3 separate regions of the Homo sapiens genome follow, and all the other regions are linked to region 1. The links are contacts of gene promoters, found by promoter capture Hi-C in human tissues and cell types (Jung and others, 2019). All regions are on one chromosome and are shown on one strand. The core of a region is centred on a gene start or on the middle of the fragment in contact, and the rest is flanking DNA. Distances in the headings are between cores, read along the strand shown.

Region 1 (5,048 bases), core at 1,664-4,163:
TTAAACGTGCTCAGAACACTTAGGTTAGCCTACAGCTGGCAGAATCACCCAGCAGCACAGCATGCTGGAGAGGATGGGTGGTTTGCGCTGGTGATGGCATGGGTGGCTGAGAGCTGACCAGCATCATGAAAAAATATCTACCGAATATCATTAGCCTGGGAAAAGACCAAAATTCAAAATTCGAAGTATGATTTCTACTGAATGCATACTGCTTTTACAACATCTGTAAAGCTGAAAATTCCTAAGTTGAACCATCAGAAGTGTTTGGACCTATATTGGGAGACAGGAAGAGGGTATGTATAATTGGAGGCAGGGAAGAGGGCATCCCAGCTAAAGCCTCATCTTTCAGAGTAGAAAGGCAATGGATAATGTCTATGACTGGGTGGGTGAGGGAACACCAATAAACAGCATTATAAACACGTTGTTTAGAGCTCAAAGAGATGAAGACACTGGGAGAAACTTATATTTCTGCCTGTAGGACCGAATCTTTAAAATATGTGCATAAGGTGGGGCACAGTGGTTCATGCCTACAATCCCAGCACCTTAGGAGGCCAAGGCAGGAGGATTGCTTGAGCCTAGGAGTTTCAGAGCAGCCTGGGCAACACAGAGAGACCCCGTCCCTAGAAAAAAATTAAAAATTATCCAAGTGTGTTGGTGCATGCCTGTGGTCTCAGCTACTTGGGAGGCTGAGATGGGAAGATCGCTTGAGCCCAAGAGGTCAAGGCGGCAGTGAACCATGATGGTGCCACCGCACCTCAGCCTGGGAGACAGAGCAAAACCCTGTCTCAAAACAAAACAAAACAAACAAAAAAGGTGCATAATTAGCTCTGTCAAAAATAAAAACTATAGTAGTAATAAGGGTGATTTTGCTTACATGTTTTCCCATCTTTTTCAAAACGCTTAATGAAATCTAAAAGGATACATGCTAACATGTCAACAGTGATTATTTCTAGTAATGGGATTGTGGGCCACTTACATTTCTTTCACTTTTGTATTTCCTGAAAAAGCGCAGTACACAGAGCATATCGATAATAAATCAGAAAAAAACCCAAAGGCGTTATACTTCATGCCTGGCCCAAATCCACCCCAAGGTAGAAGGCCCATCTCTGTCATTTTAGCTTTTGTTTGCGCTGCTGAAGCAGAGGAGCCTGCCAACTCCTTCATTTGCACAGCAAATATTTGTTGAACTCCTAAAAGCTAGGCCCTGCAAGGCGATTCCAATACCTTCAGCTTTTGAGTCTCCTGAAGTCCTCAATACTCGCTGAGGGAACCAGCTGGGAGAGGAGCTAAGCCAACACTTCTCATACCTTATGTGCATTATGACCACCAGGGGCTTCATAGAGCAGGTCCGGGTGGTATCTGAGACTGGGGGAGCAAGCAAGCTACTTGAGGTACACAAGATTTACTTCAGGTTTCTCAAAGGAACCGCCCAGGTCTTCAGTCACTTCTGCACCATGATGGTGTGCCCATTCTCTAACTCCCACATAGGCTCATTTTCAATTCCCAAATATTTAACAAAAGTCTGTGAGAGATGACAGAGGGGCACTGCTGGGGCAGCTGGAAGCTGTCTCAACTGCTTGCAGTTATGAGCACGGCCCTGCAGAAAGGCAGGCCTGGGTTTGAATCCATGCTTCACCATCCACCGGTGTGATTTACGTCCCCTCTCTAGGCCTTCACAGGGGAGGGTGGTCGTTGGATTACACGAGGGTATGAGGACATCTAAAGGGCTTGACAAGATCCTGGTACACGAAGAAGACTCAAACAGTGACCACCTCTAACTGCTGACAGGACTCCAGTCCTTTCTCAGCTATGAAGGACTGGCTGGGACTTCTGGGAAGATCACGTGAGTTTTCAGCCTCTATGCCCTCCAATGAAGAGAAGAACGCCCATGCCCTGCCTCCTTCCCAGGAATGTTCTGAGCCTAAACCAGGATGTGCACAGCACCATGCAAAAGACCTCTTTGGTCCTAAAATAGGTTATGGCACTCAGATTTTATTCAGTAAAATTTTCCTGACTCACCTCAATGTTACTACCAGGGAGATAATTAGGAAAAGAAAGAAGCCCTTTCCTCTTCCCCTGATCTTAGGAAGCTTTATTTTCAGGGAGGAGGCCATCCACGTGGAGATCAGGTGAGAAAGGCACCAGGTGTCTCTGACACTCAACACAAACTCAATAGCCACTAAGCCAAGCTTCCTGCTCCCAGGATCTGCCGCCGCCACCGAGAGGACCCAACAAGCTGAATTTCTCCCACAGCAAGACATCCTGAGGATCACAACCCTTTCTTCCCAGGACAGCCCGAGTTTCCTGGACCTTGTTTAGAGTCTTTCACTTTGGGAAGAAGGCGAGGCTGAGCAAAAACGGTTCCCTAAAGCCCGCGGGAAGATCTGAGCAGGCTCCATCCCGAGAAGCACGGCGGAAGCACGCGCCGGGGTCCAGCTGAGCCCCCCGCCACCCCCGGCCCGTCGGCACTCACGATCTCGGCCACGATGAGGAAGCCGGGCAGGGTGCGGAGGAACTCCCGGTCGTAGGCGAAGCTGCTGCTGCTGGTGGAGAAGTTCTCTGCGAAGGAGCTGGCGGTGGTGGTGACTGTGTGCGAGCGGGCGCGCTGCGGCTCCTCCATCGTCGAGCCACTGCCGGGCTGGCGCGTCCCCAGGGACCCCGGCGGGTCTGGGGCTGGACGCGCGGCCCTGCGCCCTGGGGACACAGGCGCGGGGGAGGGGAGCGCGGCCCGCGCGGGGCAGGAGGTGCGAGGGGGGCGCCCGCCGGGGGCTGTCCAGGCGCGGCGGGTGTCCCTCTAGTGCGCGGTGCCCCTAGCGCCTCGGTGCGCGGGCTCCCGAGCTGCGCTGGGGCCCTAGAGGAAGAGGAGAGCGAGCGAGGGGAGGCTGCCGGGCAGCCGGGGAAGGCGGTGGAGGCCCGGAGGAGGGGAGGGGGCGGGGAGAGGGGCGGGCGGGAGGCGGGCAGGAGAGGGACCGCCCCGCGGAGGCGCCGCGGACGCCCGCCCTCTTCACCTGTTGCCCGACTCCCAGCGGCGGAGAAGGCGCCGCGTCGCACCCAGGGTGGCTGGGTTGGCAGCCTGGCGGGCGGCGCGGAGGAGAGGGCGCAGGGGTCCTTCTGGCCGTCTTCCGCTCCCCCTCCCGGCCTTTACTTCTGTCAGGCCCCGCCTGGCCCAGGCCCGCAGCCTGTTTCCTTCCACCTGGGCGGGTCGGGGGCTGCGGGCATTGGGGCCCCTTAAGGAAACCCAGGCCTCCAGGGACTCCGCCGCTCCAGGACTCGGCGCGGAGGGAATGACTGAGCGACGACCGAGGCAGGGGGTGATGTGGTACCTCGAATGCTGTGGAAATGGCAGGAATGATGACCCGGCCGGACCTTAGACCCGAGATCGATGAGAGGCCGCCAGCACTGCCCGGGAGACGGCCCGCTCTTCTCCCCCTCCTGCTGCGGCCGCCGCCAGAGCCCGGTGTTATTTCCTGCCCCTCCTGTCGGGAACAATTTGAGGAACCAACTTAATCGCTTGGCTTTGAGGGCGCGACGCTTCCAGGCGCTCTCCGCGGCTCTGTCCCGCGGACCGGTGGAGCCTGGGTGACGGCGCCTGGGCCGGAGGAGGGGAGATGTTTGGGGTCCCTGGCCAGGATGAATCAGCGTAACCGTCCCGTCACCCTCGGGGAAAAAAAATGTTTCAAGAAGGCTTGAAGGGTGTGATTTGTGTAATGTTAACTTTAGGACAAATGAGCTGTGCTTTCCTGGCATGGGAAGGGGATGGGGGTCCTCATTTAGTGAGGCAGTTTGTAACAGGGTCAGGGAAGAACTGAGCTCGGCTGCGTGCGTTTATCGGCTGTATGACCCAGAGCGAGTGGCTCTAGTTTTTGGACCTCAGTAATGCCATCTCTAAAATGCAGGCTTTGACAGATGGACCTCTGAACAAAAAGATTATCTTCCGCTTGGTCCCTCCTTCTATTTTGTGAAAGGGTAGCAAGAAACATTTTATCTGGAAGCCACCAAAAGAAAAGGAAATAATCTTTGGCTATAAATCGAGGGTATCTTTGATTCACAGTGAAGGCATTTCTGCTGATCTGTTCCAAGACAGGTTAAAAACGAGATCAGAAGGGACATTTTCTTCACAGTGTCTTATCAAGTGTGCTGAGAAGAAAGCAAAAACGACAATCTAATAAAATAAAACAAGGAATTAGTGTCTTTTAAGTCTAGGGCCTAGCCAGGAAGACCTCCAGGAGTAAAAGTTAAGGCTTCAAAAGCATGGCAAAGATGTAGATTTGGAGAGATTCCATCCATGTGCATTTGGTAAGCACCTTGGGCTGGTGGGTAAATTCTTAAAATTTAAAATATAGCACTTCTCCCTGGAGCAGTAGTTCTCAAAGTGGTCCTTGGACCAACAGCAGGTAAGTTCCCTGGGAACTTATCAAAAATGCAAGGTCTCAAGCCCCACCCCCAGACCCTCTGAATCAGAAACTCTGAGGGTGGAGCCAGGAAGCTGTGTTTGAACAAGCCCTCCAAAAGACACTGATGCATGCTGAAGTTAGCTGCTGCTTTAGAGAAACTGTTAATGAGTTTGGGGAAATAAGAGATACATACATGAAATGGCTGGAGGAGACTCAAGCATTATGCATGACATTTAGTGAACGTAAAAGACGGAGTCTAGACAACTTTATTTCCATAATATTAACAAAGGACAATCCTCTCTTAAAATTCCTGGGGTCAGATGAATTTCTAAATTCAGATTTTGTTTTTCAATTTAGAAAGGTAAAATGTGCATGTACCATATATTACATAATACCTTTGGTAAGGTCTGGGGTGACACTCTAATATACTAATTTTCTGCAAGGGAAATCATGAATGACATAAGTGTATGCTTGGATTATCTACTGCAATGTAATAAATGTTCACAAAATATTAGTGGCTTAAAATCACCATTTTATTTGCTCAGAAATCTGTTGTGTCAGGAATTTGGGAAGGGCTTGGCTGGCAGGTTCTTCTGCTTTGCATGGTGTGATTGGAGTCATTTACTCAGCTGCTTTCAGTTGGTGACTTGGCAG
Region 2 (5,048 bases), core at 1,092-3,591, 210 kb before region 1:
AGGACAGGGCTTTGTTTCTTAAGGCACTTCACTCCCCTGAGGAGTGAAGTAGAAGGGATTTAGGCGGGAGTATTCACAAACCCCTTCAGCTGTGCTAAGTGGGGTTCATCAGTACCTGAGGTGGTTCTAGAAGCAGGAAGGCAGAAAACATTTCCCTGGAGGCTGCTTTCCTTTCCCAGAATGGGAGGGATGTTCTCCCCGGAAGGCTGGAGGAAGAGTTTCCGGCTGGCTCAGGAGCTCAGGGAGCTGGCTTCCTGGGAGAGCAGGAAGAGGGTGCAGGCCTTTCCTGGTGCCCACCAGCCTGACAGGACTTTGGCACAGGAACACAGGTCCAGAGGCCTCGCCTGGAGTACACGTCCTCCTCTCTGCAAAGCTCCTGAGGGGCCTAGGGGTTGTGGCCTCATCAGACGGCTGCATCTTGGGAAGGAAATGGCAGTCAGGACAGCTTGCCAGGGATGTGGCCCACCCACAAGCCACACTCCACAGGTTTGACTCCAAGTTCTGCTCAGGGGGGCACCTGTGTCCTCCACCCAGTGCCGACTTGCACTGAGATTATTCCATTTTTTAAAAATACATTTCCAAACAAGGAAAAAACTTCGGTAGTGCAGAGGTGACTCCCATCCGCACTCCCCCGACCTCAGTCTTACTCCTCAGCAGCAACCTCCCAAGCCTTTTAGCCATTTCTTTTGGTGATTCTTCCATAATTCAAAAAACCAATTTATACCAATATTTATAGATTTATCCTGTTAGACACCACCTATTAACTTCTCTTTTCCCCTATATTCTCTACGTTTAAAAATCATTCTTTTTTTTCTTAAACAGCTTTACTGGGATATTTTAATAATTCACATACCATACAATTCTCCCATCTAAAGTGTTTTTCAGTATATTCACAGGACTGTGCAACCACAATTTTAGAGCCTTTTCATCACCTCAAAAAGAAGCCTCATCCTCATTAGCAGTCACACCTGAGTCCTCTCCCAGCAGCCCCAGGCCGCCATGGGTCTACCTTGTGTCTCTATGAATCTGCCTGCTCTAGACGATTCTTATTAGTGGAATCCTACACTACATGGGCTCAGTGTAGGATTCCATGAGTAATGCCCTCAAAGAGGAGGCAAGTTAAATAAACTGCACAGTCATGCGATGGACTTAATGCTGCAACCCACGGAGTTGCTAAGAATTCCTAATGATGTTGGGAAAATGTTTGGTCAGTGGCTAAGTAGGAGAAAAAACATATTATGAAACAGCACATGAAGTTTGATCCTTTTAATAAAAGCAACAGATATATATATTTTCAGAGAGAAAATATCGAAAGGATACTCAGTGCTACTTCTGGGTAGTGTGATGACAGATGGCTTTTTCTTATTTTATTTTATTTTTTAAGAGACGGAGTCTGACTATGTTGCTCAGATTGGTCTCAAACTCCTGGGCTCAGGTGATCCTCTTGCCTCAGCCACCTGAGTAGCTGGTACTATGGGTACACACCACTGTCCCTGGTTCAGACGGTTTCTATTAAACATATTTTTTATCTGTATTTTCTAAAAACCTACATTTTATTTTTGTCATTAGGAAACTTAAGAAAAAGCTGGCTGGGTGCGGTGGTTCATGTCTATAATCCCAGCACTTTCAGAGGCTGAGGTGGGAGGACTGCTTGAGCCCAGGAGTTTGAGACCAGCCTGGGCAACATGGTGAGACTCCAACTCTAAAAAAAAAAAAAAAAAAAAAAAAAAAAAAAAAATTGAAATTAGGCATGGTGGTGCACACCTGTAGTCCCAGGTACTCAGGAGGCTGAGGTTGGAGGATCACTTGAGCCTGGGAGGCGGAGGCTGCAGTGAGCTCTGATCGTACCACTGCACCAGCCTGGACAACAGGGCAAAACCCAATCTCAAAAAAAAAAAAAGAAAAGTAAAGAAAAAGAAAGAAAGGAAGCAAGAAAGAGAAAAAAGCTTGGCCACCCGAGGCTGAAATGTTAGGGCATCCTTGGATGTGTGGAGATGGGAATGTGAGGGGAGATTCTGGGGTCACATCTTCCCCTTTGCTGGCCCCTGTGCTCTAATACTACTTCTAAAGTCCCCTTGGAACACAGCCTTCTCAACAGCAGGGTTTGTCCCTATGGCTGAAGTCAAGAACAAGCCATCCCCCTGTTCCTGAGAGATCCTCTGTGCACAGATAACCAGAACTCACCTGTGGACTGGGTTACACACGAGATCTTATAGGACAGCCATATGCTTGCCATGCAGAGGAAGGTGGCCATGAAACCAAAGATCTGCAGTGGAGAGAGGGGAGAGGAAGTTCACAGGCCATAGGGCTAATTACTCGGGCAATCCTGTCTGCTTCTCATCTCTGTGCTTGTTCCCTTCATGTCTCTGGCCAGAAAGGAGCTTGGAGAGTCATCTAACCCAACCACCTCATCCTGGATCAGGTGCAGAGAGGAAGCCCCGCGAGGCCCAGCCACTGGCCCCAGTCCTCCAGGTTGGGCCAGGTCAGGGCTGGCAGCCAGGCCTCTCGGTCTTCACTCTTGGCAGCTTCAGTGCCTGGTCTGGGTTTACATTTACAAGCAAGCTGGGGCTAAGCCAATGGACTTTGATTATCCTGGACCAAAAGAGAAGAAAAGGATGAAATTTTAATTTGGGTTAAAAAAATCTGAACGTTCCCATGATTTGTGGTGTAGTGGCGTTGTTCGCATTTCATTTGTAATGACTTTCTGTTCCATTCTGGCTTCATAGCCGTATTAGAGCCAGAAGCCGAGGCCTTTACATCTAGGTTTACGTTTGTACATATTAAACAATATTAGACTCAACTAAGTCAAGGCAGCACCCTTTCCCTTTCTCAGGGTCATCCAGCGCTCAAGTGTGAGGAAGGCTGACCTAGCCCAGCCCCCTCACTTGTAGATGAGATTCGGGTGCTGGGAGACGAAGAGTGCCTGTGGGAGGCTCATCAAATGGTCGAGGAAGAGGCAGTAGCTTCTTCTGGAATCTCTGGGCTTTGAAGCCTGCAGCCATTTTCCTTGCTTGTGAACAACACCGGCAGCTGCAGTGGTGAAAACTTACTGACCACTTTACTACATCCCTACCAGGGTGTGAGGCCCTGTGGGTGTATTGATTCCTTTAACCCTCACAACTCTGCTGGGTGGGTGCTAGGATTACCCACCCTGCTCCTCCATTTCACAGCTAAAGAAACAGAGGTACAGGCGGTCATCTGTTTTGCCGAAGGCCACAGAGCCAGCAAGGGCCAGATATGGGATGGGAGCCCAGGGAGCCTGGCTCCAGAGTCCGCACTCTGCAGTACCGGGTGCCTAGGTGTTCTCAGACCCACACAAAGGCCTCCACTTCACTACACCGCCACTGGTGTCCAGTGAGAATGGCGCAGGGGCAGCTAAGGGTAGGATTTTCAACAAGGTTTGGTTTTCTTTTCAAGCCCAGATGCTGCTTTACATAAACAGCTGCCCCCACCAGCCCACATCCACTTCTTCCCCGGGTTTCTTTTCCTGGGCTCCTTTTGTACCAATTGTCTACAGCACATAATTAGCCTATTAGAGCCTGTCCCGGCCTCTCATTGTCTGTTCTGCACAATTAGCACGTTATATACCATCCCGGTCCCCAACTGTCTGCACTGCATAATTGAACAGTTTATTATATCGCTACAGAATGCTATTCTAGACTACAACGCCTTGTTTACTAATTGTTTCATGTGTCTTGTCTCCTAAGCTAGATGACCACTTTCTTATAAGCAGGGACCATATTTTAAAAATTTCTTCTAACTTCCTCATAGCCCAGGTTTGGTCCTAGGCACACAGACAGCATATGATGAATGTTAGCTATAGAGATTCCAGGGCTAAACAGTTATGTGCAACCTGAATTACTAAACACAGTGGGAATCTCCTCAAGTGGGCCCGGAAACACAGTGGGCACAGGTCTCCTGTGTGCCTCTTCCAGTACCCTGCACTGTAGCTGGGCAGGTGTTAAGCTTCAGGGGGCAACCATCCCTCTCTTCAGAGACAGCAGAGAGAGGGGGCAGAGAGGTGTGATGGTGGGCTGTGGGAGGGCCATGTGGAGCATCAGTGTTGGGAGGTTTGGCCACCCTCTACAGTGACCTTCTGCCCCCATGCTGACCTTCAGAGGAGAGACTCCATCCCTCAGTGGAATTCCAGGAGCCAACCCACTCCCAGGCCAAAGTCTGGAAAATTTTGGTAATATACGTAAGTGAAAGACAATGAATGTCACATACAGAGAGAGCTTTTCTTTTTCTCTTTTTCTTTTTTTAAGACACAGGGTCTCAGTACGTTGCCCAGGCCAGACCGAACTCCTGGGCACAAGCATTCCTGCCGAGTGCCTGGGACTACAGGTGCATGCTAGCTACCACATCTGGCTTGAGAGAGCTTTTCTCAAAACTCATTTTTAAAATCTTGTCTGCTCATCAGTGAAGCAAATCAGTGTTGGCCCACAGGCCACTGAACTATAAATAGTTAGCTAAATCAGAAATCAGATGACAGGAATCTATGAATCTTTAAAAAAATAGCATATACATCTGTATGTATATACATATATATGTATGTATATATCTCACAGGACTGTATTTTTGTATATTTCCATCTACTTCTATTTATGGCTATCAGATGGATCAATTTTTGCCTCTGAAAGATACAGGAGTATTATTTCCTGGCCTGAATACTGTTAAAAATCAGGAATGGCAAAGCTCAGGCTCATGGCATGTATCTCTAATTGATCACAGTACATTTCCCACTGGGCCCAAAAGAGGCTCCAGCATCTGTCTCTGCATAGTGCTGAGGCAGCCAACGAGCAAATGATCAGAGTGGGTGTGTGAATTAAAACCCGCCTGGCCCCCTGATTTCAGTAGTGCCTGTAAGAGAGAGAGGCCTGGGCTGCTGGGGTCTATGAATTTGCTGGCAGCCCTGACAATCCACCTTCTGGGACTGTACGCCTCTGCTTAAGGCTCTTTGGAGAGAGCTGATGGCTGGATCAAGGTAGGTATTGATTCTATGAAGGGAATGCCCCAGAAACCAAGCCCTTCTCTTCCCCCATCAGGAA
Region 3 (5,048 bases), core at 1,531-4,030, 170 kb before region 1:
CTCTTAGCTGTGTAACCTGGAAAGGCTATGTAACCTCCCAGGGCCTGTTTTCCACCTGGAAAGTGGAGGTGACAAATAGTACCCCACTTAGAGAGCTCTTCCAATACCTGAAAAGCACTACGCACAGTTCCTGGCATGCATCACATGCTCTGCCCACAAGAGCTAAATGCAAAAGTAAAACTCTCACTGGGTCCCTGCAGCACTTCCGTTGTCGTAAAGAATTGGCAGGCTCCATATCATAACATTCTTGGGTTATCATTTCCTCTTCCTTAGCTAAATTTTCTGGAAGGAATCTCTTCCTGTGTATGAATCAGAAACTCAAGAGAAGCCACACTTCCCCAGCATCCCTTTTCCTCCCATGAAGCTTCAATGGTAAAGTTTCTTCACCTCTCCCCTTGCCCCAGGGATGGAGATTGACATTGACTTAGAGTGGACATCTGTTCAGGGGCAGATGGTCTGTGCAATTTGAATATTTATTATCTTGGTAATTTGTACTTCACCTCTTCCTAAAGTAATGAGGCAATAAAAGGAGCCTTAGTAAGAAATGTCAAAGATGAGGGGACGAGCAGAGACTTGCACCAAACAGAAGCTGTGAACGCAGTGCTGAAATACAGCGGTAAAGAAGGTGCAAATTTTCAACGTCAGTGGAACGTGGAGAATGAAAACTGAACCAAGAAAATGTAGCTTGGTCATTTGGTCCTGGGGTGGTGGAATTCCCTGGAAATAGACTCTGAGAAAGAGATTTGCATGCAAAAAGTTAACTGGGGAGTGCTCTCCAAGAGATTACAGTGGGAGAGTAAGCAAGACAGGACCAGGTGGAGGGAGGATTTGAGCAGTCATAACAAAGGCCTTGGCTGATACTCCGAGGAGCACTGAAGCTAGGACCGCTCTTCAGAGTTTTCTCTGTTGAAGCAAGCAGACCAGGCCTTCCTGACTCTCCACTGACCACTGGATACAGGCTGCCCCCAGGGAGAGGTTAGGCATCATCTTGGGTGAGGCGAGTCCCTTTGGTGGACATCAATTTGTGGGGAGGGACTCAGCAGGCCACATTCTTGGAACCTGCGGCGGATGAATGCCTCAGCAATAAAGGGGATATTTGGGCACACACCAGTATGGCCACTGCAACTGTTTAAGTGGGCTCTTTCCCCAAAAAAGTAGTTTAAAAAGAATAGAAAAATCTTGGCCCAAACTTGAATAGCCACATAGGAAAAAAGCTGCCTACTGACCAGGAACCCCCATGCTGGGGTTCCTAAATGGCTGAGGGAGAAAGCTATCGTGTCAAACCAGTAACATTTGAGAGTTATTTGTTACAGCAGCTAGTGTTGCACTAATAAAAAAATCTAAAACTATGAGAAACACTGTGAATGAAAAGAACTGGGTGCTATTAGAGGAGTTATAATGGAGATGAAGATTAGTTACCTCTGAGTACAAATGAAATGGACCAAAGGTGTGTTAATAATATCTTCTAATCACTCTAATCTTATAACAGTTAATAAATGAATGTATCAATGAATCAGCTAATTCATTTGTTCTGATATGTCACTGTCTTTAAGGTCATAATCATGTTACAAATAGAGGTTATTTTGAAATCAACAAACTAAGTTATATATCCTGTGAATAAATATCCATCTCTCAGAATTTATCTTAAGGAAAATAATCTAAGTCAAAAGAAAACTCTACTGCATACCGTAAAACAGCGATTGGCCATTTCTTTTTGGTAAATGACCAAATAGGACATATTTTAGGCTTTGCGGGCCACACAATCTTTATTGCAACTCCACTCTGCAGTGCTAGTGTGAAAGTGACCATATGTAATACATGAATGAATGGGTTTGGCTGTGTTCCAATACAACTTTATTTACAAAAACAGGTGGCAGGCCAGATTTGGTCTGTGGGCTGTAGTTTGCCAACCCCTGAAAATGTTCAATGTAATATCATTTATAGTAGCTAAAAGCTCAAAAGCAAACCTACATGTTTAAAAGTGAGTGGTCACATAAATTTAAAAATATCCACTTAGATGATTGTACATATTATGTGCAATTATGAAGCTTTTATAGCAACAGGGACATTACCAAATATTAAATTTTGTAATAGAAAAATAAGCAACAAAGCAGAATCTATTATTGTCAGTAGGGTAACAGCCCTGCAAACTTTACACATATTCTTAAACAAGGGCCAAAATATAACATTGTAGAAACTGTGGAATGGTGGGCGCATGGGTGAATTTAGTTGTTTCAAATAACTTTCAGATTTAATTATATTAATGTTTCCCTATTCATATTTGTGTAGTAACAAACATCTCAAAAACTTAAAAAAAAACGCTAGGTCTATAAAATCCCTTCAACTTAAGACCCAGATGAAAAAAACTGCTGGAGGAATTAATGATGCAGTGTGTGTGTGTGTGTGTGTGTGTGTGTGTGTGTGTGTGTGTGTGTGTGTGTGTGTGTGTCAGTCTCAATCTGTTGCCCAGGCTGGAGTGCAGTGGCATGATCTCAGCTCGCTGCAACCTCTGCCTCCTGGGTTCAAGCAATTCTCCTGCCTCAGCCTCCCGAGTAGCTGGGACTAGAGGCGTGCGCCACCATACCCGGCTAATATTTTTGCATTTTTGGTAGAGATGGGGTTTCACCATGTTGGCCAGGATGGTCTCAAACTCCTGACCTCAGGTGATCTGTCTGCCTCGGCCTCCCAAAGTGCTGGGATTACAGGTGTGAGCCACCACACCCAGGCTGCAATGAATATTTTAATTTAGGTATATTAACATGCCCACTGCATCATTAATTCCTCCAGCAGCTTCTACGAGACAGTTAGCTATGGTGCGGATGTTGGCAAAGCCCAATGGAACCACTAACATTTTTGTGGCTAACAGATCCTCCATACTTCACCACTACCAAAAAGCCTACTTTATGAACTGACCAAGAAGATTGCAAACCTTGTACTTTTTCTCCCAACTCTGGGACTTTGCAGAGACTGTTCTCTTCTCCAGGACACCCTTCCACCTTTCCCTCCTGCCTTGCCCCTTCCCGTGCATTAGGTCTCAGCCTGGAGCTTCGTTCGAACTCCTGACCTCAAATGATCCGCCTGCCTCGGCCTCCCAAAGTGTTGGGATTAGAGGCGTGAGCCACTGCGCCTGGCCAAGTCGGGGTGTTTCAATGACCACTGGAAAAACAGTTGTGTAGTTATCACTGCCTATGCATGTGGCAAGGTCAGACACACCAGCATCAAAACGTGTGTCATAGGTGCCAGCAGGAGGAAGAAAATCTCAGAGACAAGAGTAGAGCACCTTGACCCCCAGGGTATGGGACTGATGGCGGGGACAGTGACTCAGGGGGTCACTTAGCAACATTCCCAAAGTGGGAGTCAAAAGCCAGTGCACAAACCCAGCACTGATGGCTTTTAGTTTTTGTGTGGATTCTTCTGAGAAATGCTGCATGGCTCACACTCTTGATAGCATAGAGGACAATAGCTTGTGTAGAAATATTCTAAAAATAAAAAGATTTAGAAGAGGAAGGCTCTGACTGTAAAAAAATTTTAGGGATATCTTAACCAATTTATTTTTCTTCACCTATTTTCCTTTTTATATATTCACAAAAATATGTAAAATTTATATTTAATTAAATCTAAAAGAGTTCTTTCAATAAGCATAAGACAAAAATCCTGAACGATAAGAGAGATTTGTGTTACCACATAATTATTATTTTTCTTTGTTTCTTAGGGAGTGCCTAAAACAATGGTGCCTTCGAGGTGATGAAATACCATCCTTGTTTAGGGTCTTGATTTTCAGCGACAGGGAAGCCGGCTCTGCCTCATTCACAGCTGTATCCCCTGCGGCTGACACAGAGCTGGGACAGAGCAGCCATTCAATAAACATCTGATGAAGTGACTTAAGGTAGCGCCTCTGCCAGGCAAAGGGCCACACCAAATGGCTAACACTCGAGTGAGGAAAGGTATCACAAACTGAGCTTGCCACTTCTGGCATTTGATTCTTTTAGCCTTTAATCCAATATAGTAATCCCACTATTCAGTGTTTCCTGGTGTTGCTTTAAATTAGAAACCCTGCCCTGAGAGCTTGATGAGCTGACAGACACTTCTGTCATCCCTCTGCTTGTCTCTGTTTGCTTCTGTTGTTTTGATTGTGAGTCTGTCGAAACCTGTCAACTCAACTAAAGAAAAAAGAAAGGTGCTATCACAACAGGCTAACAGCTACTACGAAAACTGCATCTCTATCGCAAACTGTGGGGGGTGGGAGTGGGCTGCTCCAGGACAGGAATCCTAGCCTCTCTTTGCTAGGCATCCTAGCCTCTCTGTGACTTTTCCCAGCTTCTTGGCCCGCAGGCTTGAAGATATGTGCCCCAGGCCCCATGGCCTGTTCTGGGCCTGGCAGAAGGGCTCTTTCCACTGCTGGGCCCACACCCCAGCCCCCTCCCTCAGCAGGTGTCTGACACAGCATTATTTCCTCTTCTGGAGAAGACCCAAGTCTCTCAAGCACTTCATCCATGCTGACTCTTTGGAAAGGAGTGCTATTACCAAAGGCTTTGTCAAAGAAAATATGCATGTGTTCATTTGAAAAAAGATGATGAGTATTTCCTGTGTTCCAGGCACCACCTTACGAACTGGACACTCCGTGGTGACCTGAACAGAAAGGTGGCTGCCCCTCTGCAGCTCAGGTCTTGGTAGAGAAGATCTACCATAAACAGGTAATTAAGTGAACAAAGGGATTCTGGCTGGCAAAGTGCTGTAATGAAATCAGAACCGGGAAACAGGATAGAGTGATGGTAGCAGGGTGGTGCAGGGGACTACTTTAGCTGAGGGGCTGACGAAGGCCCTCCTAAGGCAGGAGAGGGGGCAGTCCAGAGGGGAAGCAGAGCACCCTAGACCTGGGTTTGTTTTTGTTTCCTCACTATAAAATACGCAAAATAAGAGTACCTAAATGATAGGGCTATTGTGAGGATTAAATGAGGTGATTCACATCAAATTCATACAATAAGACTTGCTAGTTAGCCACTATCCCAAGGAGGTGACATCTGAGCTAAGGCTTTTTAAAAGAACAG

Evidence for each region. Contacts are between HindIII fragments. The study calls those that stand out against the background at their distance.
Region 2: a contact is called between a fragment that was not itself captured here and the fragment with the promoter of CMTM8 in region 1, in 1 of the 25 tissues and cell types used here (H1 embryonic stem cells).
Region 3: a fragment that was not itself captured here is called in contact with the fragment with the promoter of CMTM8 in region 1 in 1 of the 25 tissues and cell types used here (adrenal gland).

What each region holds. Positions count from the first base shown.
Region 1 is chr3:32,236,545-32,241,592 of GRCh38, reverse strand. It overlaps CMTM8 (CKLF like MARVEL transmembrane domain containing 8), which reads right to left and starts at 2,913. Exons shown (of 4, transcript NM_178868.5): 1 at 2,474-2,913. The coding sequence starts at 2,620. RefSeq lists a silencer at 2,900-3,109. The HindIII fragment of the contact is 9,285 bases long and covers 1-5,048 here.
Region 2 is chr3:32,449,610-32,454,657 of GRCh38, reverse strand. It overlaps CMTM7 (CKLF like MARVEL transmembrane domain containing 7), which reads right to left. Exons shown (of 5, transcript NM_138410.4): 4 at 2,185-2,266; 5 at 1-417. The coding sequence ends at 404. Among named protein-coding and RNA genes, the nearest start is that of CMTM6, 51 kb to the left of the region's middle. RefSeq lists an enhancer at 428-928. The HindIII fragment of the contact is 6,848 bases long and covers 1-5,048 here.
Region 3 is chr3:32,409,882-32,414,929 of GRCh38, reverse strand. All of the region lies in intron 1 of CMTM7 (CKLF like MARVEL transmembrane domain containing 7), which reads right to left. Among named protein-coding and RNA genes, the nearest start is that of CMTM7, 21 kb to the right of the region's middle. The HindIII fragment of the contact is 3,147 bases long and covers 1,207-4,353 here.